Linked DNA regions of Homo sapiens: all the other regions are linked to region 1. Evidence: promoter capture Hi-C in 16 types of primary human blood cells and fetal thymus (Javierre and others, 2016). All regions are on one chromosome and are shown on one strand. Each heading gives the region's core, a stretch centred on a gene start or on the middle of the fragment in contact. The rest is flanking DNA. Distances are from core to core; before and after follow the strand shown.

Region 1 (6,342 bases), core at 1,529-4,028:
TTATGTTTTGAAACAGAATCTGAGAAAGTATGAGAGGAATGAAAAAATTCAAAATCAAAGGTAATCTGAAGGCACTCCAGGATAGGGGCAAAATTTAAAATGTTTCCCCTGGAATGAGAGAGAGGAGGAAATTATACACTTGGCCATATCCTACAGGAATAGTCTGCATAATCAGTCTCCAGAATACATACCATGGGATGGAAACTGAAAAATCAGAGTCCACGAAATAGTAAACATCCCTCCTAAACACCTGGAACAAAACTGTTCCTTACTATTGTTTCCCATTTTGATTTTTAAAAAAAATCAAATATCTAGAAATGAAAAACTGACAACCTGAGAATTTTTAAAATTCTCATAAAAATAGTCACCTCATGCTTCCAACATGTCAGATCACACATTTTGTAGAAAAATCAATTAGTTGGAGAAACATAATAATCCTTTTTTAGAGTGCATCTGATCCATAACAAAAGGCTTTTAAAAATCAGACATTTTAAGTACTCAAATTGTTCATGTATAAATATGGATTAAGGTCTTTATGATTATTTCAATTATCTTCAACAGAATCACATATTTTAGTTCAACTGGGAATGTTCATCTTAAAAAGCCTATGCAACAACATAATATTAGTTTAATATAAGTGGAATATCTATATGCCCTACAGCAACAAAATCACTTTATTTCAAAATTATAGCTATTAACCTCCTGGCCCACTGAAAATAATCCTGGCCCAATGAAAATAATCCCACAAGAAACTAATGCTCAATTATTTTTACTACCAAACCAAGCAGAAGAAGCTGTAAGATCTGTAGCGACAGCCTGCTTTTCAAGAAGTAATACCTTGAGACTGCTCAAGAATAACCTCCTTCATCAATTAGTGTGACTCAGGTGGGTTTGAGAGGGAATAATGTCCACAATTCCTTGGTCAGTGGCCATGATGCCCCTCCTCCTCAAGGGCAAGAGATCAGAACAAGGGATTTGAACAAGAGGAGTTCACCAGCCACAACATATAGAAGCAGAGGAAAAAAGAGTACTACTGGAAAGATAAAAACTACATGGTTAAGTCATGTCACAAAAGCAAGAGGTTTAATGTTATCAAGGCCTTCATTCATTTCAGACACACCATTGTTTAGCTTCCTTCCCAAACCGTGCACAAAAAGAACTGTCAGCCTGCCTTAAGCATGTTCCTTCTTCCATTTAAACAGACATGATTCTTTTGGTTAATCTCTGGCAATGATCGCCATTTCACAACACATTCAGCCCACCCGGAACTGATCAATACCACTACAGACATAAGACTAGACTTTATCCATTTATTAACCACAAGGAAATGTACCATTCAGCAAAATTCTATACATTACAAAAGATTATATTTAAAGGGGGGTGGGGAAGACGGACACAAACACACAAACACACACACACACACCCCACAGAGGTACACAAAGAAGACTACCACCCTTTAATTTTCCTGTGGCAAACGAGATAAAGACATGGCCATGAAACCTGTCAATTCGCCCCCGTTTCCAAGAGTCCCCCGTAATTCTATGCCACAAGCTTGTAACTGAATATTAAATTTTACAATAAATAGATCCAATGAGACTTATTTAAAATGTTTCATCTATTGAACTAACTCTCCTGTTATGTACATCTGCACACCTTTCAGCTAGATGCTGTATTTATTTATAGAATTTCAAATACAAAAGACTAGATAGTTTTTCCAACCACTGGTTGCAACCATAGAACGTCCTCACAAAATCAAAATTTCCAATATAAAATGGCCCGTTTATTCCCCCAACCTTGAGCTAAAACCTATTTTATGAGTGTACTATATTTAACAAAAACAATTTCACATGGGTTGTTCTAAACCGAAAACAATGCTTCAATACAAAGCGTTTAAAATAAGTATTCCGTAGGTAAGCAAAATCTATGCCCCAAAAGAGCACACAAATGGTGGTTGAACGCCAGCACATTACCAATACCAAGCGGCATACCTCTTCTGCACTGGGTTATAGTTAATACTCCAACAACAACTACAACTATTTTTAACACTGCTGGACGCTGAAGTTGAAGAAAACGTGAGGGGAGACCCAGATTAAATTGCTGATAGGATGTATTGTTTCCCACAGCCAAAATTAAGCAGCAACTGGCTTGATCTATGTCGTGATATTCACCGGTGAAGCACTAATTAAACGATGACAAAAAGCAACCCTTGTTTTGGAGGAGCCCACACTAAATACTCCTTTCAGATCTCAACCTTTGCATAAATTGTCACTTGTGGTATTTGCGGCTTAATTGCAACCCAACCAGCGCTGTCATCCAGTGTTATGGCCACAAAACATGACTTTCTCACTTCCACAACAACACAGCACTCACTCTTATCAGCTCGCCGACCCAACTCAAAAAGAGAAAAATGCATGGAGGTTTCCAGATCACAATCAGACCTGGGGGCGGGGGGGGGGGGCGGTGGCAGCCGAGGGGCGCAGGGAGTGGGCAACCTCCCCAGGCTCCACTGGACTCTCCGACTCAACACCAGCCGCGGCCCCCAGCAGCGGCCGCCGCGGCCGCAGGAGCAGCCCCACCGCGCCGCGCTCCCTGCACCTACCTGAAGAACAGGAGATAAGAAAGACGGCAAACGCCAACTTTGCAGCAGCTCCCATTTTCCCGAGGCGCCGGGGAATCCGGAGGAAGTTCTCGCTAGATATCCAGTTCCCTGGGTCTTCCTCGGAGACAAACCTCCTGGTGTAAAATCAACCGTCATAAAACATATTCGGAAGCCCAGACCAAAAAAAAAAAAAAAAAAAAAAAAAAACGCTCACTGGGTTAAAAAAAAAAAAGAAAAAAAAGAGCACAACGATAAAAAATAAAATGCACCACGGGGGAAAAACCGCCACACACACGCACAACACACAAAACCAAACAACGAAAAGCCAACAACAACAAAAGCGGGTTTAAATCACTGTCAAAATCACTGTCAGCTCCGCTCGCCTCTCCCGTCTCTCGGAACAAAACGCCAGGCTGAGGCGACGAAGAGGCGGCGGCGGCAGCGGCGTCCGCTGCCGCCCGGACAGTCTGGGAACTGACTGGGTCCGATGTCCGGACCGACCTTCAACCCAGACACCTAAAGTCCGAGGACCACTGGCGGCCGAGCTCGCGGCGGTGGCGGCGAGGCGGCTGCGGCGCGGGGAAGGGGCGGCGGGCGGCAGCGGCGGCGGCGGTGCAGGCGGCGGCCAAGTTCTGGTCCAGGCTCTGGCTCCAGCTCCGGGCTCCGGGCTCGGCCGCGTTTTCGGTCTCCTGGCCTCCGCCGGGCTCCGCCCCCCAAACTTCCGGTTCCGGCCCGAAGCTGGAAGCCAGGCGCAGCGGAGGAACGCTCGGCGGCAGCGGCGGCGGCGGCGGCGGCGGCAGCGGCGGCCGGGCGCAGCGCGCGTGCCGGGCCGGGAGCGCGAGGAGATTGTCGGGGAAGCGAGGCGGGAGCGGGGGAGGGGTGAGAGAGCGAGGGCGGGGCGGAGTGGAGGGCGAGGAGGCGGGGCGGACGGAGGCTCGATACCGCGAGGCCTCGGCGTCCGGCCTGCTTGGGCTAGAGATACCGCGACAAAGGGGCGCGGGCGCCTCAAAGTCCCTAAGCTGTGGCTGGGCTGTGGCCGGGCGAGTAGATGCGGGCTAGGCCGGGCACGACCCGTTTCCAAATCGCGTCCGACGGGCCTGTCTGGAGCGCCCACCCAAAGGGTCAGGAGAAGCCCAAGAGGAAGAGGACCCCGAGGTGGGGCGAGTGGCCAGGGACTTCTCCAAGGGGCGTCTGCGGCGCCCAGTCTTTCCTCTGGGGGGACGCCTCGTCCGCTCTGATACCGAGGAGTCGGTGGAAGGCGGACGTGGGAGCTGTTTCGCCGCGCCCGCCGAGCTGCCCAGGCGAGCTCGCGACGCGCGAGCTGGTGTGTGCGCCCCCAGACTTAGCACTGCGTCCCACCGCTGCAGCTTCTGCACACGCGTGCTGTCTTGGTGACTAGAAAAGAAAAAGAAAAAACTCACGGAGGAAGGGCTGTCCACCCGCTCAGGATATTCACGCCATTTATCACGATGCGCAACTTGAATCCATTCCCGCCGTTCCTTTTACACACAAAGCATTGTGTTGAAAACTGTTTTGCACGTAATAGGTGCGCAAATACTTGTTTACTGCGCTTTGAAGAAAAAAATGAGGATTTCGAACGACATATTTGATGATCAGACAAGTGATTACTTGTCAAAATTTTAGCTATTTAAGGGCCTGTTTTTACCCCTTAATCCATGTCGATTGCTTACAAGCTGGTGTGCTAGGCACGGAATGGGATCCAACAGGTAAAAATAGGATGGATCCCTACCTCAAGTAGCTTTTAGTATTTGCTGTATTCAGTTGGTTGCAGAATACAAACTAGAGACTATTGAAGGTAGTTGCTCTGTCATTTACCACACTTTAGTGAGCTTCGTGAAGGTAGAGATCTTGATTTTTTCCTTATTTTATTCCAGCACCCAGAAGTATCAACTAGCACATAAGTGCTTAATAAATAATTGTATAAATGACTAAGGGATGACTGCCTTTCTCTTAAATACAGTCTCTGTTAATGTACTCTACAAAGTTTTGGTTTTTAATAAAACAACTGTATAATATGGCTAATTCATGTTTCATTTGTGGTTTACTGATTCCCACCTTTTCCCACAAAGCCAAGTCTTCTCACTTATATTTACAGCAGTTTACTTCCTCTAAATTACTCTGTATTTCTGTCTATTAAGTTCATCCTGTAATTATCTGCCCATTTCTACAACTTATCAGGGTTATTAATAATCAACGTGGCTCTTTAAATCTCTCCAAGATTGCCAGTTCTCAAATCGTGATGCTCAGAATTTGACTGATGTTGGAACAGTTACAAAGTCCCAAGTCGGTATTAAAGGTGTCTGAATGATCTCATGTAGTTCTCCTATCTTTATGAGTTGGTCAAAGGAATATGTGTAAGCCTTCCATTTTCTGGTTGAATTAAGAGTTGTACTAACGGTTCTGGAATGGAAGAGTATATTTTACTCTAGAAACACTTGAAGTTCATTAGAGAATTTGATGTCAGTTAGGGTCAGGCCCCACTCTTGTCTTATCTGTGCATCACTTCAGTATTTCTTTAATTGTGAAGCCTGAGCAAGTGGAATAACTGGAATAGCGAGTAATACAACTGAAACTTGTAAATATATTCCTTATCTTACCAACTAAATTTGCCATTATAAGAACGAGAGCATGAAAATTATTTTTCTGTAGTACTAAAGAGAAGCAGCCAGTCTTCACGAGGACATTCCTTTCTAACAAAGACAGAAAACCCCATGGGAAAAGTATTAACAACCAGTAACGCAGCTATTCTGTTCCTAAATGTGTTCAATTACCCCTTCGTTTTTTTTTTTAATTCAAAAATAATGTAACCTAAAAAGACAAGGAATTGTGACTAATTTCCACCGGAGCTTCAAAGCTTAAAAAGAGGTAGCTACAGCTAACCCCATTGCCCTTCTTTCCTCCTTGTTTTCTAGAATCACTTTTTAAAATCCATAAATCCAACAACCACTTCCTAACACATTGCAAGGTGTAAAACCTGGTTTGGGAAGGAAAATGAGAAAGGAGAGGAAAGGAAAAGGAAACATGAATTCTAATCGACCAGAGCATCGGGCATTATGAGATAAACATCTTTAGCTAACTTCATTCACTTCCCAGCCCCAAGACCTAGCCTTATGGCCACTCCAATGCTAGAATTTGAAGTTCAGAGTCCTGCCAAGTTCAATTGAACTGAAAATTATTCCCAGGTGGAAGAATCTTGAGAAGCCAGTTCAATCTAGAGTGTTGGCTGGATGAGGAGGTAGAGGTAAATAAGTGACACAGACTGCTTCCAGAATAAAAGATTTCTTTTTGTGTTAACAAAGTCATGGCTCAAAAAGATGTGGAGAAGTTTAAATCTTCAGTTCTGAAGTAGAGCTGGAAATGAACTGGGTTATAATTGAACTTGCGTTTGGACCCACCAACAGACACTTCAGCAACACACGTCTAATCTCTTTTCCTTCATCTTCAGGAAGATGACTGAAAACCTTTGGAGTATGGAGGATGTTAAGTTCCCCTTAAATGAAGGACTTAGAAGCTTTCGTGCTGCTTTCTAGCTACTATAAAAATCTGTGTTCAGATGACATGGGCATTCTTGAAGTGGCACAAGTAACGAATTTCTTATATGCCAACGCTGTAAGGCATAATGCATGGGGAATAAATTTGGTAACTTGGTGAGTCCAAGGAAGGGAGAAATGATCGATGTATCTTTTATAAATATCCCCCTCTCCTTAAGTGCCCAAGGTGGG
Region 2 (6,342 bases), core at 1,843-4,342, 770 kb after region 1:
GCTACAGTAACCAAAACAGCATGGTACTGGTGTGAAAACTGACACACAGATCAATGAACACAATAGAGAACCCACAAATAAAGCCACATATCTACAGCCAAGTGATCTTTAATAAAGTTAACAAAAACATACACTGGAGAAAGGACACCCTCTTTAGTAAATGGTGTGGGAAAATTGGATAGCCATAGGCAGAAGAATTAAACTGGACCCCTATCTCTCACTATATACAAAAGTTAACTAAAGGTTAATTAAAAACTTAAAGGGAAGACCTGAAATTTAAAAAAAGCCTAGAAGAAAACCTAGAAAAAACTCTTCTGGGTGTTGGTCTAGGCAAAGAATTTATGACTAATTCTCAAAAACAATTACAACAAAAACAAAAATAGATAAATAGGATTTAATTAAAAAGATTCTGCACAGCAAAATAAACAATCAACAGAGTAAATAGAAAACCTACAGAATGGGAGAAAATATTTGTGAACTATGCATCTGACAAGAGCTAATATCCAGAACTTATAAGAAACTCAATTAGCTTAACAATAACAACAACCAAATAATCCAATTAAAAAGTGGACAAAAAAACATGAATAGACATTTTTCAAAAGAAGGCATATAAGCGGCCAACAAAAATATGAAAACATGCTCAAAATCAGAGAAATGCAAATTAAAACTACAATGAGGTACCATCTTACACCAGTCAGAATGTCTGTTACAAAAAAGTCAAAAAACAACAGATGTTAGCAAGGATGTGGAGAGAAGGGAATGCTTATATGTTGTTGGTGGGAATGTAAATTAGTACAACCTCTATGGAAAACAGTATGGAGATTTCTCAAACAACTAAAAATAGAATCACTATTTGATCCAGCAATCCCACTACTGGTATTCTTTTGGATCCCAAAAAGAAATCATTATGTTGGCGAGGCACGGTGGCTCATGCCTGTAATCCCAGCACTTTGGGAGGCCGTGGCAGGCAAATTACTTGATGTCAGGAGTTCAAGATCAGCCTGGTCAACATGATGAAACCCTATCTGTACTAAAAATACAAAAATTTGCCAGGTATGGTGGCAGGAGCCTGTAATTCCAGCTACTCAGGAGGCTGAGGCAGGATAATCGCTTGAACCTGGAAGGCGGAGGTTGCAGTCAGCCGAGATCATGCCACTGAACTCCAGCCTGGGTGACATCTCAAAAAAAAAAAAAATGAAAAGAAAAAAAAAGAAATCATTATATAGAAAAGTACCTGCACTTTTATGTTTATCACAGCACTATTCACAATAGCAAAGTCATATTTATATATATACACTCAGCCATAGAAAAGAATATATATACATATATATAAGTATACTTATATATACTTATATATGTGTGTATATATATATATATATATACACACTATCTATCTATCTGTCTGTCTGTCTGTCTATCTATCTATCTATCTATCTATCTATCTATCTATCTATCTATAGCACTCCACCATAGAAAAGGATAAAATCATGTCCTTTACAGCAACAGAACTGGAGGCGATTATTTTAGGTGAAATAACCCAGAAACAGACAGCCAAATAATGTATGTTGTCACTTATAAGTAGGAGCTAAATAATGGGTGCACATGAACATACAAGGGGGAAAAATTAGACACTGAAGACTCCAAAAGGTGGGAAGATGAGAGGGAGACAAGAATTAAAAAAATACATCTTGGGTACAGTGTTTGCTGTTAAGAGGATGGATACACTAAAAGCCCAGACTTCACCACTAAACAATATACCTGTGTAAGAAAATTGCACTTGTACTCCCTAAATCTATTTTTTTTTTAAAAAAAAAAAAAGCATTCTTATGTTCTCCTCAGTAGAATTCAAACACTGAGAAGAGATACCTCTTGAGCTATGTAAAATGTTAAATAAATTTCCTTAGACCATGAGCGTCAGGGACTCAAAAGGAAAATGTTTGTGTGTGTGTGTGTACATGTGTACACCCATGTGTGGATTCTCTGCCTGATTCCTTTTTAAGGAAGAATGAAAATGACAAAAGGGGGAACTCTGCCGCTGTTTCAACTATTTTTTTCCCACTATTTTAACTGTAAAATCAGCATGCATTTTATTAAATCTTGCTTAAATGGAAATGGTGAGATTCTAATATTGAATGTGAAATGAGATGAAGATCTGCTCTGGGAGTTGAGTATTATAAAAAGTAAATTTTCAGGACTCTAGGCCAAGTTTTTATTCTGCTTTTAAAAAAATAATCTTCAAATAAAAAACTTTTCTTAGTTTTAAAAATAGCATTATGATATTTAAGAATACTTAGTTCTTCAGTGGTGTGTTTGAAGCAAGGTCTCAAAAGCTTTAGAAGAAACTGGTGGATATCTTATTGAACTCTGAAAAGAGGAAATATTATAATCTTTTAAAAAGAGAATTTTTTTAATCCTTTACCAAAGAAAGATGACATTCTCAGTTGTAAATGAGTATAGATTTTATTTCTAAGTAGAATACTCCTCTCCTCCCATTCCTTTCTTTTCCCCTTGCCTTTCCCAGGTCTACCTTCCAACTGAACCCATTAATGAAAGAAAGGCCAGGCTTGGGGTTGTCTAAAAAAAAATTATCAGGGACATCATTCATTCACTCTCAGTACTCTGTTACAAGTCTTGAAACTCCTGTGCCTGGTTACCAGCAAAAATCCCATTCCAACTGGAGAGAAATCTGTCCTGTCGCATCTATGAGAGCAGTGTTTTTGAGACCAAGTTTGAATGCATTCTAATTAAGTGATTTTTAGTAACTGTGGACTTTAAAATAAAAGTGACCATTGACATTATACTTGGTGGTCAAGTCATATGGTTTCCTGTAGCTGGAGAAAATCTAATTCTGTGCACTAAATACATCTACAACTCTTCTGCACATAGAACTGTCATTGGCTTACCATCTCTAGGGAAAGGATTTAGGGATTTTATATTTTCAAGCAAAGAATTAATTTATACTGATTTCAGCCCAGTTTTGGTTGGTTCTCCTTGGCCAGCAACTGTTGGTATACAGTTTGTGATCGTAGGTTAGAGACCCAAAAGCAGTTTTTTGCTATGGAACTTAAGGAAATATCATAGCTGGTTTAGATGATGAACAGCTTAGCAAGACACAATGTATCATATTGGTATAGGTGAGATCTGGTTAAAGTTCATAACGCAGCTAGACAAGAGGAGATTCTAGCTCTGGCTGACCCACATTGCTTTGATTATTGCTGAAGAGACAGACTAGAAAATTTGGGGTCTGATGTTAATGATACTTGATTTAGATCTGTAATAGGTGCCAGTTTCAAAAATGGACACATCCAATAACTTTCTTTGTCTCTTGGTCCATCCAAAATGGATGAATGTAATAATAAAATCATTGTAGGGGAGAAAAACTAAGTGATTAAAATAATCTAAGGAGAATCAATAAAATAATTTACATTAATCCCAATTTAAATTGCATTAATCTTCCTCTTAGCCATTCCATCTTTTGGTAAGAAGACACTACCTTTTGAAAAAGGACATGAGCTAATGAGCTGGAATGGCCCCTTGGTGAATACATCTACTGAAACTTATTCTTTACACTCATCTGCCACATGGTATCTGTTGCTACACTGGCAATAAATCCCCGGGGCTAGAGGATGAAAAACTCAGGGGGGTCTGGCAAAGTCTGGAATCAGAAATAGACCATCTGCCTCATGGAGAAATTGACAGGAATCTCAGAACAGATGCATGCACCTCTTCACCATGAGGCAGATGGATAAGGAGAGCAAATAGGACCCAAAGCTGATTCTGGGAGACAAATAAGTAAAAGGCATGGGAGAAGCCTGGTTCTGAGGATCAAGTACAAATTCATCAGTCCAAGCTTCAAAGACTTTCATAGGATGGCTCCACTCTGGCTTTTTACTCCTATCCTTCACTACTCTCCCCAAACATCATTCCAGCCAGAATTACTGATTTAGCATCATCCAGACATGACTTTTATATCCATGACATCTCTGCCTCTTTTTTGGCAATGCATATCCTACCCGTCCTTAAAGGCTCTTTTCTCTGTGAAATCTTCCCTTACACAGCTCATATGGTCTCTTTCCTTCATTAATGTTCAGCATATATTGTGTATGCCTCTCATTTTACAACGACATTGAATTGTGCTTGGGATAAAAGTTTAGTTTTTTTTTTTTTAACTGGTGAACTGTAAGATGTTATCTAACTAAACCCTATTTCTCTAATTCATCCTGAGTAAAACCGCATGGCCATACACCAGCTACATTTAGTTTCTAGAGGTATGGAACATGTTATGTTTCTTTCCACCTCATAACTTTGGCACAAGACTCTACTTGAGTATCAAGGAGAGAAAAGATCATTAGAATAATGTGATGGAGGAAACACAAAGAGGTCAGGGAAGGCTGCATCTCAGGCAAAGCTGATAGCAAGAGTGACTTAGGGATAAAGAAGATGTGGGAAGAGTACTTTTGGGGGCAATGAGCAGAAGAACATGGTGGAGAGCCAAGAGTTTCCAGGTGCTAAAGGGAGAGCAGTTAATTAAGGTTTTGCTAATTGATAATTGACTTCCTTAATAATCCTGATGATCAGACATAGCATTTGCTTGAAGACAAACAGCTGGAAGCAACAAGGTAGAAAGGGAGAGGGAACCATATTGATTGTGATGGGCCTGGGATACGTTTTGTTTCCTGGTATTCAAAATGAAGGTGCGCAAGTTTCCTTCAGTGTCTATTTTCTCGAGTTATTGTATTCTATAGCTGAAGAATATACCCAGTATAAGTGGAAAAACACAATCATACCCAAGAAAGGTTAAGAAAGCCAGAATTAAAACCTGGGGCTTTCCCAGCTTTGGCCACATAATGAAATCCTGTCTCTACCAAAAAAAAAAAAAAAATCAGCTGGGTATGGTGGGGCAAGCCTATAGTCCCAGCTACTTGGGAGGCTGAAGTGGGAGTATTGCTTGAGCCCTGGAGTTCGAGGCTGCAGTGAGCCATGATCATGCCACTGCACTCCAACCTGGACAACAGGTCAAGACTCTGTCTCTAAAAAGAAAATAAATTAATTAATTAAATAAAATAATAATAAAAAAACTGAGGTATTCTATATGTTTTATTCAGAGACTCAATATCATTCAGTAGAAGCTCAACTAGAAACAAGATTAGTATATGCCAAGTGGTTAGACCCTAGTCTCTCGTTTTAAAATGAGTATCTCCTAGAATTGACACACACACACATACACAGACACACACACACACACACACACACATATATTTTGAACACGTTAATTATTAACTTCTCAAGTAATATTTGTTGACTCTATGTATAACCATATGCTATCAGGTTTCACCAGCCTGTGGATAGGAATAAGATTGCATTGGGATTTATACTACCTTGCATTGGAATTTCAGTCAGTGTCTCAACATTCTTCTATTGCTTCTGTGAGATCTTGGCACTCTCCACATTTCCCCAACTCCACAAGTTTCTGTGGTCCCAGAGGTGTTTCACTTATGTTTCTATATGAGGAAAAGCCTGCTGGGCATGGCTGCTCTAGTCAGATGTGAGCTGAACCCCTCTGACACCTGCTGTCATGTTCTCTAGAGTTCTGTGTCTTTGGTTTGCAAAAATAACCTGGAGAAATTATAAAAGAACATGAAGAAATAGAAGCCTAAGGTGTCCTCAAGTCAGCTGCCTAATCTCAGGTTAACCTTAATTCATACTCCTGTTCTATATGTTTACCATTAGATTTCAAAGAAATAAAAAATTTGAATAGAGAACAAAACTTTCTTGGAACACCCAATTTGAAATTTTTTTTTTGTGACACACCTCAGAAAGTATGTCCACCACCTTTGCAGCTCAGTTATGAGCATTTCTAGTCATCCAAAGCCTCCATTAATAGGACATATGTTCCATGAAATTATATGTAAACTTCAGAACAACAGAATTATGGGGTCCATCCCATTCTTCACCAGTGATTTTGTAACATTACTGTTACAAAGATTACATCATATGTTAATAACATCTTAAAATATGAACAAAATAACAGTAATAGTAATCTAAACAATAGAGTATCTGACTCTATTATTTCTGATCAAGTGATCTGTAAGAGTAAGGATATTTCTGTCACTTCTGTCAATGAAAAGAGAAAGCTTTTGGTTATGTGCCATACTCTTGCATCATCTCGATTCCCCAGAATGGACTAAATCAATTGAAAGATAAACTCACTGTAGTCAGGCATATGCTGACATGTTGGCCCCTTCACAAAAGCTCATGGACAGATTTCCTCTAGACCCAAACAAACTATGTAAAGAGTCTGTTTTGATTCTTGTTAGCTTTGCACTCTCTCAGCAAGCTGCT
Region 3 (6,342 bases), core at 979-3,478, 560 kb after region 1:
GACTAAATCAAATATTTGTTCTTCTGTGAAATTTTTATCCATCTACTTTGGTAGGTCCAGTCAATCCTTCCTCCAAAAGTAATTTGTTCATACTTTATAGCACTGATATTCAATTATTATTATTATTATTAATAGTAATAGCAGCAGTTAGTTGGCAGGTCCTATCCTTTATTACCCTATATATCCTCATGGTTCAGTTCAATGCTAAGCATATGGTAATTTCTCTTCAAATATTTGTTGTAATGAATTCCTGCATGCATCCATGTATTCATAAATCAATGAATGCCCCAGTTCCAGTGAAGACTGAATATGGTTTCTCCCACATCATGAGTGGAGTAGATCACTAGTCCTATTGAAATGGGAGAATCATGACCTTCCCATGACAATGATTTTAGATTTTATTGGTGAAAGGAATGTAGCCTGATGTTATTTCATAGTATCCAGCTTTCTGAAAGAGGGATACAAACTAAAGATTAAATTTTAAAGTATCAGGAAAAAAGTGTTAAGGTAAGAAATTATAAAGTAGCATAAAATGTTAAATGGACATAAGCACAAAAATTTGATCTTCTTTTAGATGTAATTATTTAATTTAAAAAGCACAGCAAATTGAAGATTTTTTTCTTTTTCTCCCTCGGGTCTGTTGCTTTCTATGGGCAAAAGTCAGCTGTTGCATGGGAAATCCAAACTCTAAAGATCATCCAGTGCAGGGTCAGGATGTGTATTTACTTACCCTTACATTGCCAGTACTCAACACAGAAGTAAGAGTATATTAGGCTCTTAATAATATTTGTTGAATGAATGGATAAGTAAATGAAACATGTTAATTTGACTGTAGTTTTCTTATCAGCAGATTTATAAGCACAGAGCCAGTCTCTACTGAAAGTTAGTTACAATAACTTTCATAGTTTCACGCAGAACCTTGGTTTTCCAATCTTATGTTTTCCTTAAAGACTTATTATGTAGAAATGTGAATTCTCTTGGCAAAGGTTTCTACCACAAGAAATTGTTCTTGACTCCAGCTGCCTGGTGCTTAAGCTTAAAAGTTTTTTCAAATGGTTCCCTAGCACTTTGTCCACAGCACTACTGTAGCACTTTTCACACATAATTGCATTTATAAAAAGCCCTTGCCAAATTCAATTTCTCTTTCATGAAATTGTACATCTGTGAATTTACTTTTGTACACTTTTCCACAATCAGGAAAATCTTACTTTGATTAGATGCACACCTGTTGGGGATAATTTGAAAAAGAGGGAGTAAGGACTTGCGAATTTGAAAAGGCAAAAAAGAAGTAAAGCAGGTGGCAGAGCAGGAGAATGGTTTTTAAAATGCAGCTTTGGGAGAAATTAAGGTGGCTGAAGCAAAGTTAGAATTGCATCATATTGGCTGGAGGAAGGAGAGGTGAATGTGTTCTAGCCCCATAAGCAGAGCTAAAGTTCTGTGAGTGAGTATAAGGAAGCCCTAAGAGGTAACTTTTTGATATGCGTAGTAACTGAAATAAAAGTTGCCTAAGGCTTTTTCCAGCCAAGTTACTGTACTTCTTTAGGGTCACTGTGTGATTCAGGAGACAGGAGTCAAGGAGTCATTCACCTACCCAGAAAGCCTTGTAACTTATGTGGAGTATAATATGTATAGGGCAGGGCCGAGGCATATTGTCTACCATAAGGCATAATAAATACACAGGTATGTTGTTGAAAATGCTGGGGAGATGTTTTATTATGCTATTCTTTATTGTTTGGCTTTCAATAAAGAAAAAAACTATACTTATAAAAACTTTCATAGGTTAATCCACAACCTTGATGGGCCAGTCTTAACTTTCTCTTAAAAGCTTATTTATTTATACTTATTTTTGGAAATGTGAATTCTCCTGACACAGGGATTTTTGGAGCTGAACCCTTTTATTGGAGAGAAAATGTATGTTATGTAGCAGTGTACAAACTGCGTGAGTCACAGAGATGCCAAAATATTACTTTCTTTATGTTTCTGTAACTAGACAAATTTTTTTTATTTTACATTAAATTATAGGATGCATGTATACAATGTGCTTGTTTGTTACCTAGGTATACATGTGCCAGGGTAGTTTGCTGCACCTATCAACCCATCATCAAAGTTTTAAGCCCTGCATGCATTAGGTATTTGTCCTAAAGCTTTCCCTTCCCTTGCCCCCAACCCCGCAACAGGCCCTGGTGTGTGTTGTTCCCCTCCTTGTGTCCATGTGTTCTCATTGTTCAACTCCCAGTTATGACTGAGAACATGCAGTGTTTGGTTTTTTTGTTCCTGTGTTAGTATGCTGAAGATGATGTCTTCAAGCTTCATTGATGTCCCTTCTAAAAACGTAATTTCATTCTTTTTCATGGCTGCCTAGTATTCCATGGTGTATATGTACCACATTTTCTTTATCTAGTCTATCACTGATGGGCATTTGGGTTGGTTCCATGTCTTCGCTATTGTAAATAGTGTTGCAGTAAACATATGTGTGCATGTGTCTTTATAGTAGAAGGATTTATATTCCTTTGGTTGTATACCCAGTAATGGGATTGCTGGGTCAAATGGTATTTCTGGATCCAGATCCTTGAGGAATCACCACCTTGTCTTCCACAATGGTTCAACTGATTTACATTCCCACCAACAGTGTAAAAGCATTCCTATTTCTCCACAGCCTCACCAGCATCTATTGTTTCCTGACTTTTTAATAAATGCCATTCTGATTGGTGTGGGATGGTATTTCATTGCAGTTTTGATTTTCATTTTTCTAATGATCAGTGATGATGAACTTTTTTCATGTATTTGTTGGCCACATAAATGCCTTCTTTTGAGAAGTGTCTGTTCATGTACTTTGCCCACTTTTTGATGGGGTTCATTCTTTCTTGTAAATTTGTTTAAGTTCCTTGTAGATTCTGGATATTAGACCTTTGTCAGATGGGTAGATTGCAAAAATTTTCTCCCATTCTGTAGGGTGCCTGTTCATTCTGATGCTAGTTTATTTTGCTGTGCAGAAGCTCTTTAGTTGAATTAGATCTCACCTGGCAATTTTGGCTTTTGTTGCAATTCCTTTTTGTGTTTTCATCATGAAGTCTTTGCCCATGTCTATGTCCTGAGTGGTATTCCTTAGGTTTTCTTCTGGGGTTTTTAATAGTTTTGGGCTTGACATTTAAGTCTTTAATCCATCTTGAATTAATTTTTGTATAAGGTGTAAGAAAGGGGCCCAGTTTCAGTTTTCCACATATGGCTAGCCAGTTTCCCCAGCACCATTTATTAAATAGGGAATCCATTCCCCTTTGCTTGTTTTTGTCAGGTTTGTCCAAGATCAGATGGTTGTAGATGTGTGGTGTTATTTCTGAGGTCTCTGTTCTGTTCCATTGGTCTATATGCCTCTTTTAGTACCAGTAACATGCTGTTTTGGTTACTGTAGCCTTGTAGTATAGTTTGAAATCAGGTAGCGTGATGCCTCCAGCTTTGCTCTTTCTGCTTAGGATTGTCTTGGCTATATGGGCTCTTTTTCGGTTCCATATGAAATTTAAAGTAGTTTCTTTCTAATTCTGTGAAGAAAGTCAATGGTAGTTTGATGGAATAGCACTGAATCTATAAATTATGTTGGGTGTATGGCCATTTTCATGATGTTGATTCTTCCTATCCATGAGCATGGAATATTTTTCCATTTGTTTGTGTCCTCTCTTATTTCCTTGGGCAGTGGTTTGTAGTTCTTGAAGAGGTCCTTCATGTCTCTTGTAAGCTGTATTCCTAGGTATTTTATTTTCTTTGTGGCAGTTGTGAATGAGGGTTCATTCATGATTTGCCTCTCTGCTTGTCTAGTGTTGGTGTATAGGAATGCTTGTGATTTTTGCACATTGATTTTGTATCCTGAGTTTCCTGAAGTTGCTTATCAGCTTAAGGAGTTTTGGGCTGAGATGATAGGGTTTTCTAAATATACAATCGTGTCTTCTGCAAACAAAGACAATTTGACTTCCTCTCTTCCTATTTGAATGCATTTATTTCTTTCTCCTGCCTGATTGCCCTGGCCAGAACTTCCAATACTATGTTGAATAGGAGTGGTGAGAGAGGTTATCCTTGTCTTGTGCCAGTTTTCAAAGGGACTATTTCCACTTTTTGCCCATTCAGTATGATTTCGGCTATGGGTTTGTCATAAATAGCTCTTATTACTTTGAGATATGTTCCATAAATACCTAGTTTATTGAGAGTTTTTAACATGAAGCGATGTTGAATTTTTTTGAAGGCCTTTTCTGCATCATTTGTCAATAGATGCATCATGTAGTTTTTGTCATTGGTTCTGTTTATGTGATGGATTACGTTTATTGATTTGTGTATGTTGAACCAGCCTGGCATCCCAGGGATGAAGCCGACTTGATCGTGGTGGATAAGCTTTTTAATGTGCTGCTGGATTTGGCTTGCCAGTATTTTATTGAGAATTTTTTTTTCTTTTATTATTATACTTTAAGTTTTAGGGTACGTGTGCACATTGTGCAGGTTAGTTACATATGTATACATGTGCCATGCTGGTGTGCTGCAGAGAATTTTTGCATCATTGTTTATCAGGGATATTGGCCTGAAGTGTTCTTTTTTTTTGTTACGTCTCTTCCAGGTTGTGGTATCAGGATGATGCTGGCCTCCAAGAATGAGTTAGGGAGGAGTCTCTCCTTTTCAATTGTTTGGAATAGTTTCAGAAAAAAATGGCAACAGCTCCTCTTTGTACCTCTGGTAGAATTCAGCTGTTAACTAGACAATTTTCATCTTGAGCCCCCTTTTCAGTCTGAAGCAGAAAACTTCATTTAGCTACTTACAGTTTTAGTGGTTTCTCAGTGATGTTGATTTTAAATACAGTCAAATTGAAGACTTCTTCCCCTCTGATTTCTCTTGGGGCTAATGTAAATCATAAACATACGCCAAGATGTAGTGTTTTTGGAGATGGCATTCACTCCCCCATATTGATCTACCCTACGCTGACTCTGAGATCATAATCCTGTCAAACGCTTTTGTTGTCTGCATGTCTGGCATTTAAGAACACTCTAAACTGATTTTTTACAGAAGGAGCCCCATCTCCTTTTCAGACTGAAATTTTATAATTTATACTGTAGCAACTTACTCTCCCTATGACCCACCAGAAACCTCCTTTCCTGTTGGCTTTGTATTATAACTACAAAATTCTTTGCCATATGAGAAAATATTGGATAGCCCCCGATTCTGACTGGATCCTTCTGTGATTCTGCAGATAAAACCATTATGAATTCATACATCCACCCATCCATCCATCCATTCATTCATCCATCCACCCGCCCATCCATCCATCAATCCATCCAGTGGGGCAGCTGACAAACATTTATTGAGTACCAGGTGCTTACTAGGCACTTGTAGTAGAAGGTTCCTTCCTGAAGGATTTCACTTTCTGGTAGTATATAAGAACCAAAATCAGTGGCCTGATGCTCCACAAAGCTTAGACACTGAAAACTAAGACCATTTACTCCTCATAACTTACTGTCTGCATTAACATAACTTACTTTTTCTATGAAACTCTTGCCCAGGCTATTGGGTTTAACTTTTCATGGAAAACATCAACATACAGTTTGCATCCTCAAATTCTTTGAATTCTTAATCTCAAAAATCCTTGCCTTGCTGTTTCATGATCTTCACCAAATCCTAACCAACCCCATCTTGCTTGTACTACTGTCCACAACCTCCAAATTGAAAGACCTACCTTAACCCAAACTTCCAATTCCCAATAAATTGGGACACTGCCAAGGCACTTTTGTAGGGGAGGGGCATCCTGCCTTATGTTGTAAGCAATGAACTCAGCTTTGCCTAATCAACAGTTGTGTGGTAGTATTTGGAAAGCCAGAACTCAACAGTGGTGTCATAATTCAGTTGCAAGCCCTGCTTTTCAGAGGAAGATTAGTTAGTACATATAATTAGCCTCATTAGCTGTGAAAGATTATTTTAAATATATGTTTATGCATGATCAAAAGTCAAGCCTTTCATTGCTAATTCATGATATGGTTTGGATACCCAACAGAGATTTCTTCTCAATGGATATTTAAAATGTGATCTTTTATGGCCGGGTGCGGTGGCTCACGCCTGTAATCCCAGCACTTTGGGAGGCCAAGGCAGGCAGATTGCCCGAGGTCAGGAGTTCGAGACCAGCCTGGCCAACATGGTGAAACCCTGCCTCTACTAAAAATACAAAAATTACCCGGGTGTGGTGGCACACACCTGTAATCCCAGCTACTCAGGAGGCTGAGGCAGGAGAATTGCTTGAGCCTGGGAGACAGAGGTTGCAGTGAGCCGAGATCATGCCACTACACTCTAGCCTGGCCAACAGAGCGAGACTCTGTC
Region 4 (6,342 bases), core at 1,523-4,022, 550 kb after region 1:
TATGACCAACCTGAAGATCTCAGGGAATGCTCTCAACCAGCTCACAAGGGAAAGAGGCATTTTCTCTATAAATAAATTGTCTGCCATGTTGGGTCAAATATTTCCACTCACTTATATGAAAACAAAACATCTCTATTAAGAGCAAGTTATATCCTGCATGCTGTGATTTCCTACACAATCCTCTTCTTAAGAAAGATTAGGTTATTATTGAATCATCTCTAGTCTGGGGTACTATAGTGCACACTCACTGGAATGGATCATTTATTTTAGGAGTGGGAATGTAGAAACCAAAGGTCATAGGTATTTGGCTTCATTTATTTTCTGGACTTAAAATCTATTAATGACATACTCTAAATTCAAACAACTGCAGGAAAGAAATGCTTTCCACTTTCAGATTTTTAAAATGTGTTTTAGTAGATTATCTCATTTTCTGTTGTGGGAATAACATGTGTTTCGGAGTTGTAATTATGTATAATTTTGTCAATTTCCATGTTTTATGCAGTATTGTGCCCTAAATATCTAATACAAGTGTAATATGAATGATTAATTCATTAATGTTTCATACTAGCACAAGACAGCACTTTGCCGACGTCTTTGCCATGACAGTAGGTGAACCTTTATTGTAGATTTTAACAGGGGTCAAAACTACACCCTGCAGGCCTGATTGGGTCCACTGTCTGATTTTTCTAAAGTTTCCCAAGTTTTATTGGAACACAGCCATGCTTATTCCATCACATATTTTCTGTGGCTGCTTTCACAGAATAATGGCAGATTTGAGTAGACCATATGGTCCACAAAGCCTAAAATATTTACTATCTGGTCCTCTACAGCAAAAGTTTGCCAAGCCCTAGATTATAACATCGTGACTCAGGAAATGCTGTATTTTAATCTTTCTTTGCCTATTCCCAAACCCAGGAAGGACTTGAAGTTTTCATAAGTAGAGTTGATAAAACTCTAGCAGTTGGTGCAAAGTGATGAGAAAAGCACAGCCAGTGAAGACAGAAAGGCTTGTCTTGAGTCTTGGTTTAACTCTTCTTTACCTATGCTGCCTTACACAAACTATTCATTCTTGCTAAGCCTCAGCTTTCTTATTGGTGACACATATATATATATGTCATCAATATATATGTATGAATATATATATATGCCATATATGTCACCATATATGTGAATATATATTCACAAATAAGAGAGATTATTTTCAATAACATATTTAAAGTCAATACTATTATTTTTGTAGCTAAAACATTTCTTATTTCTATTCTAAGACATAATAGCTTATTTTAGAGTTGCCTTGGTTCAGATTAGTGACTGATTTTTCAATCATGTTTTGGTGACATCTTAAGTAATCTCTGGGAATCTCAAAGCTGGCTGTATAGTTTTCTTTCCTAAGTAATTACAATTCAATTTGATAGTATCCTATGTTACTATATGATCAGTTAAAAAAAGTATTTCCGGCCGAGTGGGCGGATGACGAGGTCAGGAGATTGAGACCATCCTGGCTAACATGGTGAAACCCCGTCTCTACTAAAAATACAAAAAATTAGCCGGGTGTGGTGGCAGGAGCCTGTAGTCCCAGCTACTCGGGAGGCTGAGGCAGGAGAATGGCGTGAACCCGGGAGGCGGAGCTTGCAGTGAGCCGAGATCTCACCACTGCATTCCAGCCTGGGCAACAGAGCGCGACTCTGTCTCAAAAAAAAAAAAAAAAAAGTATTTCCAAGAACACATTGAAAACAATAAAAATTTGTGGAAAGCATTATGTTAGACCCTGAGCATATAAAGATAAGTAAGACTTTGATGTAAAGAAGTTCTAAACTGGGACGCAGAAGCTGAAACAGGGACATATGATTAACACACAAGGAATTGGACAGTGGTACAAGGAAGACACTAATGAAATTCTTAGAGTAGAATGTACTGACAATATGGTAGGTATCAGATGTAATATGAAAAATCAAACAAAGACTTTATGGAAGTAAAGAAATTCGAGATGCGCTAAGAGAAGGGAAAGCAGAACATTCCATGGGAAGGGGATACTAGGGAAGAAACCGAGAAATAGGGAGGAAGCATAGGGGTGTTCTGATAACAGGGAGGGATGTTTTGACTGTGGCATCCATACGTGTATAATACTGGAAGAGAACACTAGGGCCAATGCACTTGAGAGCCATTAAGCCAGAACATATTGCAATTATCAGTGTGAGTTCCAATAAAGGCTTAATTTGTGTGATGACACTGGAAATGAGAAAAATCATTTTAAGAGTTGATGCAACTTTTTCTGAGTGCCTACAGATGTTTGTATATTCTCTCTTTCATCTGGTCCTCATAACCTTCCTGCAGTAAGTAGTAAATTATAATTCTATAATTTAGAATTATAAAGAAAAACTGGCTTAAGAGGAGAAGAGGATATATTTGACTTAGATCTTGTGGCATTTGAAGGCATGATGAGTGATCCAGTGGACCGTGCTTAGAAGAAAGTTGGAAATTCATCTGCAGGGTCAGATGGCCCATGCAGAAACCCTTCTTCTTCTCTACAAGACTAGTAAGCTTTATTGGCGTCCCTGTGCTGCCCCCTTTCTTCCCATGTCCTTCTGGGCTGTTTCAATTGCTTGATTGTCCTTCCACTGACTGAGGGGCCACAGAGCTTTAGAAAAAAGAGAAATAAGGAACAGAATGGTAATGGCATCTTCTAGGGCCATGAGCTTCTATCTTCATCTCCCTTTTGGAGTTCGGGGAGAGTGTTTTGGATTTTATGTGAACCTGACTGTACTTTCCTTGGACAGCCTTGGACTTGGGATTGATGGGCAGGAGCCAAGTTCTGAATCCTGCTGTCTTGATGTTATCAGGGGTTTGTTATTTTTTTGGTTTCAAGACATACCAGAAGAACCTGGGGGTACCTGTGAAAATACTTGGGGAAGTAGAATTTAAGCACTGGACATATGGTAAGTAAATATAGACAATTTTTCTTAAAAATAAAATAAATGAATTGATCACACAGTGGAAAGCTTCCTGATTTATTCTACAATGTAAGGGTGGACACCTAATAGCTTAGCAGTCCTTTGAATATTTTGCTGTGCAAATCTTCTTGGACGAAGTATTTATTCCATGGAGAAGAACATTTGATCAAGAGCTGAGAGATACAGGTTTCTTTTCTAACCTGGCTCTAAGGCAAACTAGATGAGTAATTATTCATAAGTTCATTTTCTGTAAAATGTGACCAAGTACCCTGAGTTGCTAAAAAAAAAAAAAAAAAAAAAGCAAATGTTATAATAAACACTAAAGTACACTCTGAAGAAGCTCTACAGAGGAGGAGCTTGTCTTCCCTTTGTTTTGACATCTCCTTACATTCTTTTACTCTCCTAATCTCTTTCATTTCTGTTTCCCTTTTTTGGTCTCTCAAACCTCTGCCAGTTCTTCCAATCATGAGCCAAGAAGTAAACTTAGCAAAATATATTCTTCCATCATCACTGCCTCTCAACTGCCTGAAAGGGTCAAAAGTGATATGACAACAATGTGCTTTTGAACCTGCAAAGTTCTTTAAATAAAAGGCAAAATCCTAATATAATCCTACAGCATTGACATAGGAGAAAATTACTATAATTATGCAAATTAAAATAAGTCAACAAGTTTCAGAACACAATGCACGATAAGTAATGTTTTTAAAAATAACAGTAACTGAGCCTGGTCATTTGCACTTAATAATAGGCTCAGGAGGGAGCCTAGTGTCTGAGAAGAAACAGCCGTGGTAATAGATATATTGTGGTTTTGATAGGTTCTCTCCTGTAGTTTTATTTCTGTATTTGCTTTAGATTATAGAAAGCTCCCAGAGTGCCCTGCTATTGAAATTCCCATCATTCCCAGGGCTTTAATTAAGTCATTGGATTTGACAGAACTTGAATTGAGGAGGCCTACCACTATGTCAGTTTATGCCAGGGTGATATTATCAGGGCCCTGGCAACTATGTGCTCAGGCTTTAACTTACGTATGGAGCTGTCTCGCTGTGAAACATAAGGCACACATGCCTCCATGTGATTTTAAAAGGCATTGAATATGGTCTACTATGGCAGTAAGGTCTTCAAAAAATCCAGAAGACAGGATGATACAAAGTGGATATTTTGGCATCATGGAGCAATGAGCTTTGAAATCAGAAGCACCCAGCCTTAAATCTCATACCTACCATTCATTAGTGGGGTCATCTCAGGAAGTGATCCAAATTTTCAGAGCCATGAATTTCTGTTTTGAAAAATGAGAATAATCCCAGCTATCATGGGAGTAATGTGAAAGTTAAATGTTAAAAGGTCAATAAGCCCTGAGCCTAGCAGGTATGTGGTAGGAGTTTAATAAATATTATTTCCTTTTTATTCACCTAATTTGAAATTAATCATTGCTTGTAGGAGTAGTCTTCCATTTCTTTCCACCTGTGAATCTTTGAGATATAGGTGTTATTTCTTGGTTTTAGAACAAATTTGGCCCTGAGAGCCCAAGGTCAAGGTTGGCTAGGGTTGTAACCATTTTCATTTAATTTTAGAAACAAATAAAATGCCATTTGCAGCATGTTGGCATTGTGGCTTCCCTCTCATGGCTCCATCCATCCCACATATACCTCGCTGAATAACAGGTGTCAGTGTTTTACCCCAGCAAAGCTGGAAGCAGCTGTAGCAACGTGCTAGTAGAATGGCAAATGTTGATCATGTATAGTGATTTGCGGTTTTTCTCTTTCTTTATGAAGCCTCTTGATGCAAACCAGCACCCATTTCCAGAGAAACAGGAAACACACCCATTTCACAATGAGTAATAGAACTTACTTTAGTCCAAACCAAATCTAAGACTAAAGTTTGGGTATACAGAAAGTGTTTGATTTAGCACATGTTGTTCACAGCACAAGCACTTTAAGATCAAAAGTTTCATTTCTTTCATATGTGTTACTTTTTTCTATGCAAGCACAAGACTTTTCCATGTGTTTCATTATTGTTCGGGGAAAAAAAATTAACATGCTGGATCAATGGAAACATTTGTCTACTAATAAGAAAATTAGAAAAGGAGTGAATAGGTCAGGCCTAGTTGGGCTATACACCCTCTACAAAGCCAGCAGACAAAGTTGCTCCCTTTCAGCCCCTAAGAAGAGTATCCAACCTTGTTGAACATTAAGCTTCTTCCTAGTATTTATTCATCTGGATAGAGGTACAATATCCTGACAGGTTAGAGCCAGTCCTGGCCAAAATTGGGATATAGAAAAGCTTGATCCTCTCAGGGTACTTTTCTCACATTGTGGCTTTCCTTTCTTTTTCCTGGCTACCCGGTCATGGAATTCTCTCCTTAGCAGGACCTGGACTCCTATTTTTCCTCTATCTTCCTCCTCTTATAAAAGTCTGATATCCGTCGTCATCAATGTTAATGACTGCCAAACTTCTTCTAGAGATATTTATATATGAACAGAGATAATTCTTTGAACATATTTCCTAAAGTTGGATCTTAAGTAACAAATATATGTGAATAAAATGTTTTTGGGCAGAGACCCACCCTTTCTCCATTATTCAAATTATATCACATGAAATAATAAGATGCCACAGAAAAATGGGGACAGGAGCTAGTTCTTTTATGAACTTGCACTTAAATTGCGTCATGTTAAACTATGATGTATGTTCAGTTAAAAGATCATTAAAGTAGATCCTAAAGTGCATGATGTATTAGCTTATGGTAGAACAACACTCCCACTGAGAACAATAGAAAAATGGGACAAAATATAAAAAGGATGTATTTGAAGAATTTGGTGAACAGTTGAGGTAACTTAGGGGCCAAGTTACTAGAAAAGAAGGTAATTATTGAGAGATGAGTTGATATTTTGTGAGCTGCTTTCCTTCCAGAGATATTTATCATTCTTGGCCAGTGGAGAGAGTCTAAAAATCCTAGAGGGGTTTGCAGCTAAGAGGCAGAGAAGCCAGCAGAACTTCTGATAAATCCACAATGCAAAGAAAACAATTAAAGCTCAGGGTTATGAAGGCTCCTAGGACTTGAGAGACCAAGATGCTGGAGAGAGGGGAGATGCTCGAGGGGCCAAGATGCTAGAGATACCCAACCTTTACAGATCTTCCCTTGAGTTTTTGTGGAATTCTTAAGTTGGGCAGAGGAGGAAGTTAAGAAGCAAACCAGAAAGTCACACTCTGACAAGCGAGTGGGGCATCTTTGGGCACTCTCATGGAGATAAAGAGACAAATAATTGGAGTCATGACCTATTAAGCAGAAAGAGCTTACCAGTCTCTCAGTAAGGACTCCTGGAGGGTTCACATCGGAGGGGTGATCCAGAGTTGGATGAAGGTTTACCAAAATGTAGCCTAGCCATGATCTACT

What was found. Contacts are between HindIII fragments. The CHiCAGO score rates a contact against its expected background, and 5 or more counts as called.
Region 2: a contact is called between a fragment that was not itself captured here and the fragment with the promoter of ACVR2A in region 1, in 1 of 17 cell types (M0 macrophages). The highest score is 6.2, in M0 macrophages.
Region 3: a fragment that was not itself captured here is called in contact with the fragment with the promoter of ACVR2A in region 1 in 2 of 17 cell types (non-activated CD4 T cells and total CD4 T cells); the score reaches 5.8 in non-activated CD4 T cells.
Region 4: a fragment that was not itself captured here is called in contact with the fragment with the promoter of ACVR2A in region 1 in 6 of 17 cell types (non-activated CD4 T cells, naive CD8 T cells, naive CD4 T cells and 3 more); the score reaches 8.0 in non-activated CD4 T cells.

Annotation. Positions count from the first base shown.
Region 1 is chr2:147,841,465-147,847,806 of GRCh38, reverse strand. ACVR2A (activin A receptor type 2A) reads right to left here and starts at 2,778. Exons shown (of 11, transcript NM_001616.5): 1 at 2,600-2,778. The coding sequence starts at 2,654. RefSeq lists silencers at 2,337-2,416, 3,172-3,281, 3,362-3,551 and an enhancer at 3,678-4,428. The HindIII fragment of the contact is 3,923 bases long and covers 1,554-5,476 here.
Region 2 is chr2:147,067,260-147,073,601 of GRCh38, reverse strand. No RefSeq gene overlaps it. Among named protein-coding and RNA genes, the nearest start is that of LINC01911, 230 kb to the right of the region's middle. The HindIII fragment of the contact is 1,520 bases long and covers 2,333-3,852 here.
Region 3 is chr2:147,279,524-147,285,865 of GRCh38, reverse strand. No RefSeq gene overlaps it. Among named protein-coding and RNA genes, the nearest start is that of LINC01911, 450 kb to the right of the region's middle. The HindIII fragment of the contact is 163 bases long and covers 2,147-2,309 here.
Region 4 is chr2:147,296,384-147,302,725 of GRCh38, reverse strand. No RefSeq gene overlaps it. Among named protein-coding and RNA genes, the nearest start is that of LINC01911, 460 kb to the right of the region's middle. RefSeq lists an enhancer at 4,943-5,052. The HindIII fragment of the contact is 458 bases long and covers 2,544-3,001 here.